Linked DNA regions of Homo sapiens: region 2 is linked to region 1. The links are contacts of gene promoters, found by promoter capture Hi-C in human tissues and cell types (Jung and others, 2019). All regions are on one chromosome and are shown on one strand. The core of a region is centred on a gene start or on the middle of the fragment in contact, and the rest is flanking DNA. Distances in the headings are between cores, read along the strand shown. Region 1 holds the start of EVA1C (eva-1 homolog C). Region 2 overlaps EVA1C (eva-1 homolog C).

The links. The method cuts DNA at HindIII sites, captures the fragments that hold promoters and counts their contacts. A contact is called where the count stands out against the background at its distance.
Region 2: a contact is called between a fragment that was not itself captured here and the fragment with the promoter of EVA1C in region 1, in 3 of the 25 tissues and cell types used here (H1 embryonic stem cells, dorsolateral prefrontal cortex and heart left ventricle).

Annotation. Positions count from the first base shown.
Region 1 is chr21:32,411,399-32,414,038 of GRCh38, forward strand. It overlaps EVA1C (eva-1 homolog C), which reads left to right and starts at 1,308. Exons shown (of 8, transcript NM_058187.5): 1 at 1,308-1,615. The coding sequence starts at 1,456. The HindIII fragment of the contact is 9,144 bases long and covers 1-2,640 here.
Region 2 is chr21:32,446,701-32,449,340 of GRCh38, forward strand. All of the region lies in intron 1 of EVA1C (eva-1 homolog C), which reads left to right. Among named protein-coding and RNA genes, the nearest start is that of EVA1C, 35 kb to the left of the region's middle. The HindIII fragment of the contact is 3,605 bases long and covers 1-2,640 here.

The DNA.
Region 1 (2,640 bases), core at 58-2,557:
AACACTGATGTTTAGCATTTAACACACTTTTCCCCAGACTGGAAGAAGAGGCCGAGATCCCAATTCGGTGACCCAGCCCTTGCTGGAGTACTAGGTGGTATCTAATGCCATCCACCCTTCCGGGATCTTTACGGCCCACCTCTGAGTGGGTCCCACGGGGACCCTCAGCCGCATTTTCTTTCTGCAGGCCTCCCTGCACACTCTGGGGCGTTCGCAGCTCTGGAGCCCGCGGGGCAGTGCGTCCGGCCCCGCCCTGGGCCTCATTATCTACGTTTCCGCGTCACGCCCGCCGCGAACTTGGCAGGCCCTCCCGCCGGGTTCGGGAACACTGTGTGCCTAGCGCCCGCCCTCCTCCCTTCCGCCGGCCCCGCGCGATCCATAGGGTTTGGGTCGCTGGGCGCCAGGTACCCGCACCCGGCAAGCAGCCACGGAGCCCCTCGCGCACTTGTCCTCGATACCCTTGAGTTGGGGCTACGCAGGCCACTCCTAGGCCACTGGCTGGGCGTCCGAACGTGGGTCACCCCGCGCACAGTCTAGAGGTTCAGAAAGATGCTGTGGCCCACTTTAAAACAAAGCCCAATTATTAGCGCTCGGCGGCTGTTTGCGCCGGTGCAGTGTCAGATCCCCCAGCGCTGCGGACAACCAGCACCCAAAGGAAGCCGAGCTGGAGCTAAAGATCCCGGCTCCGGAGCCATCTGACCGGTTTTGAGACCTCCAGCTCGTCGCCGTCCTGGCTGCGAGAGCTTGGGCACGGCGCCGGGGCTCAGTCTCCTCTTCTGTGGAATGGCGATAACTGTATGTGCCGGGTGACTGCACGTGGCGCGCGGCGGGTGGCGGGGATGGCAGCGGTGCGATCCCACGCCTCCAGGACCCCACCTTCCTGCGGCCCCCGATCGGCCCCGCCCCGGGGGCGCCCCAGCTGCACGCGCGGCGCTGGCTCCAAAGTGCGTCACGGGCACCGGCCGCGCTCCTTCTGCCGCCAGGGCGAGGCTGGCACCCGGCCAGCGCGGGCAGGGCCACGGGTGCCCGGCTGTTTCCCGGGTGTGGAAGGCGCTCAAGGTGCGCGGCCCGGGGCGCGCTACTGGGGGCGCCCTCCGCGGTGGGCAGCGCGCCAGGGATCGGCCTGGGCAGCCGCGGGGCGCGCGAAGGCTGCGCTTTCCCTACGGCCCCCCTCGCTTCCTCCGGCACGGCGGCAACGGAGATTTCCTCTCGGGGAAACTACGCGGATCCTTTTCGGGGATCCTCGCCCCGCCCCAGTTCTCCGCCCCCTCCCCTTTGCTGGGGCGCCTGGGCTGGCCCGCGCAGGGGAGGAGGCTCTGGCAGCCTGGGCAGGGAGGCGGCGGGGGGCCGCGGAGCCGCTGGCCATCGATTCTCCCCGCCATGTGACGCCGTCCTTAGCCCTGCGACCCCCAGCGCGTCCCGGGCCTGCGCCTCCGCCCCGCCGCGCAGCGCACGATGCTTCTGCCGGGACGCGCACGCCAACCGCCGACGCCCCAGCCCGTGCAGCATCCCGGCCTCCGCCGGCAGGTAGAGCCGCCGGGGCAGCTCCTGCGCCTCTTCTACTGCACTGTCCTGGTCTGCTCCAAAGAGATCTCAGCGCTCACCGACTTCTCTGGTAAGAGCGCCCTCCCTGGCTGTGTGCCCCCGGCACCGCGGAGCGCCCAGGTGAACCCTCGACTGGGGGCAGCCGCACCAGTGGACACGGCGGGGTAGGATTAAAGTTGAGGCGTGCTCACAGACACTTGTCTGGTGTGAGCCCTTGGCATATAGATGGCTGCGAGTGAAGTGGCGACGGGGGACTGCCACTCCCAAGAAGGAAGGGTGTGTAATGTATTCAGAGTTTCTCGCCCTGCTGTTGACCTCGTCAATTTCCTAGCATTAGGGACCTGGTCCTGAGCCACGCTCGTTCTATGGAGGCTCCTTAAACTGAGCCCTGTGCCGCGCCCAGCGCTGTAAAATACACGTGTTGTGGTCGGAGGCGTTGCGCCGCGTTTGTCACCCGCGTAGCCCGTTTGCCCATGTAAGGAGACTAGCCCAGGGGACACTTGACCTCGAGTCCACATTGGCAGGTAGAAAGGGAAGCCCGCGGGGACTGGAGGTCTGGTGGAAAGGCAGTGAGGGATGAGGAGATACTTAGATAAGAGAGAGGAGCCTCTCTGCCAAAGTGTACCAGGGTCCTCCCTCTCCAATTCCAGTTTCCTTCACAGAAAATAATGACTTCCTACTCTCGAATAAACTAGGAGGCTTTTCTTTTTGGGAATCGTGATCCAGGCTCTCGCAGCGGATCTCAGATAGTTCTGAGCTTACAGGTGTGACGCCCCAAAGTGAAAGGGATTTCTAGGTTGACGATAGCCATAGGAGCACATGCTTAAGTTAGCGCTGCAGTTGCTTAAGGTAACACATGTCCTTGCCGCTGAAGCACACCTGGATCTCCCTCTGGCAAGGCTGGAGGCCTTCAGCCTTCCCCAGCCCAGCTTAGGGAGCAGCTCTGAGCCCCATACTCCTCCTTCTCCAGGGATCTTCTGCCAAGTTCAGGCTTTGCACAGTCGGTCCCTATCGGGTCCTCAGTGCAGAGTCTTTTGCAACATAATGGTGGTAAAGGGAGTCCTCCTCAGTCCTGTTTGTGCAGTAGGCTAGTAC
Region 2 (2,640 bases), core at 50-2,549, 35 kb after region 1:
CTCCTGCTCCACCCCACTTCCTACCTTCATCCTGGGAGACGCCTGGTCCACAGGGCATCTTCACTCTCAGTCCTGGCATCCTTGTTTCCAGCAACCTTCTCCACCAACCTCTCCTACCTCCTTCCATGGCCACTCCTGGACATTTCCATAACCTGCAAATCCACCTTGAAATCACTCCTCAAACAACTCGTGGGCACAGCCTCCTGCCTTTCCAGCCTGCTGTGTGATTCCCTCACTCTGACCTTGCTGGTCCTCATTAGGAACTCTGGTCCCTTGCGCCCCTCCCCTCTTCTGTGCTCATTTCCTTTCTTACATTTAGCTTGGAGCCCACGGTTCATCATTTTGAGCCGTCTCTTGACAATATCCCCCTTCAAACTTGTCGGACCATAACCCATGGTAAGAAATCTAATAGGTATGAGCCTGGCGCAGTGGCTCACACCTGTAATCCCAGCACTTTGGGAGGCTGAGGTGGGTGGATCACTTGAGGTCAGGAGTTCCAGACCAGCCTAGCCAAAAACAGAAATTAGCTGGGCATGGTGGCGGGCACTGTAGTCCCAGCTACTCCAGAGGCTGAGGCAGAACTGCTTGAACCAGGGAGGTGGAGGTTGCAGTCAACCAAAATCACGCCACTGCACTCCAGCCTGGGTGACAAAGGGAGACTCCGTCTCGGTGGGGGGAAAAGGAAAGAAATCTAATACATACGATCTAAGGGTCATGTGCATATGTATTTATCTGTACACATACATATATGCACAAGCCTCTTTCACTTTAACTCAATCACAATTATTTAAAAATCTCTCTCTGAACATCAGTTCTTACAGCTATGTTTCTCTTTTTTTTTTTTGATAACTTAATCACATCTGCCAAGTCCCTTTTACCATGAATGTCTGGTAACATAATCACTGATCCTGGGGATTAAGGCCTGTGGACATCTTTGGGGGCCGTTATTCTGCCTACCACATGGACCATCTTTGACTTTCTTCACTTCCACTCACTTTTCTTTTTTCTTTTTTCTGTGTTTTGAGATGGAGTTTTGCTCTTGTTGCCTAGCCTGGCGTGCAATGGCGCGATCTCAGCTCACTGCAACCTCTACCTCCCAGATTCAAGTGATTCACCTCCCTCAGCCTCCCGAGTAACTGGGATTACAAGCGCCTGCCACCACGTCCGGCTAATTTTGTATTTTTAGCAGAGACGGGGTTTTTCCATGTTAGTCAGGCTGGTTTTGAATTCTCATTCTCAGGTGATCCGCCTGCCTCGGCCTCCCAAAGTGCTGGGATTACAAGCGTGAGCCACCGCGCCTGGCCCCTCCACTCACTTTTCAACCTTTTCCGAACAAGCTTCTGTCCCCATCCCCCATCCCATATGGTTTCAAAATGGTTCTTGATGGCCTCCATGTTGCTGAAACCATGGGGTTGTTCTAATTGTCCTTCTTCCTGACCTTTTGGCACTGTGGACCAAACAGAATGGGGCATGGGCAGGCACCCTGGAGGACCAGAGCATTTGGGCAGCCTGTCCTGCTGTCACCCAGCAGCCCATCCTCGTGGGACTGAGGCTGGCTACAGAAGGCATTCCGCACCCGCTTGCTCCATGAGTTATCCAGGGCTCCATGTGCCTAGGCTTTCTTTATTGTTTAAAAGTGTAGGTCAGATAACTACAGGTGAAGTTTTCTTAAACATTTTTGTTTACATATCCAAAGTGGATAACTGGGTGAGCTTTCACAAAGTAAAGCACATGCCTGCCATCAGATCAAGGAACAGGACATGATGGCCAGCTCGCCCGAGCTCCTCGTTCTCCCCTCCCTAACGCTAGCTCCTCTCCTCCCATAGGTAATGCTATCCTGGGGCCGAGGTGATAAGGATTTTTTTTTCCTTTTAAATAGACTTAATGTGTTAGAGAAGTTCTAGGTTCATAGAAAAATGGAGAAGAGGCCAGGCACTGTGGCTCACACCTGTAATCCCAGCACTTTGAGAGGCTGAGGCGGGCAGATCACGAGGTCAGGAGTTTGAGACCAGCCTGACCAATATGATGAAACCCCAACTCTACTAAAAATACAAAAAAATTAGCCAGGCGTGGTGGTGCATGCCTGTAATCCTAGCTACTTGGGAGGCTGAGGCAGGAGAATTGCTTGAATCTGGGAGGTGGAGGTTGCAGTGGGCTGAGATCTTACCACTGTATTCCAGCCTGGGTGACAAAGAAAAAAAAAGAAAGGAGAAAAGAGAGAAAGAAAGAAAGAGAGAGAAAGAGAGAAAGAAAGAAAAGAGAAAGAAAAAGAAAGAAAGAAAGAGAGAAAGAAAGAAAGGAGGGAGGGTGGGAAGGAAGGAAGGAAGGAAAGAAGGAAGGAAAAGGAAAGAAAGAGAAAAGAAAAGAAAGAAAAATGGAGCAAAAAGTGCAGAGTTTTCATCAACCTCTACTCCTACCTGCCACACACATACACACACACGTGCAGCTTCCCCCACTAGCAATATCAAACCTGAGTGCGATATTTGTCATAATCAATAAACCTACATTGACAAATCACTATCACCCAGAGTCCATAGTTTACATGAGGGCTCACTTTTGGTGTTGTACGTTGCATGGGTTTGGACGTATGGACAATGACGTGGCTCCACCATTGTGGTATCACACAGGGTAGTTGCAATG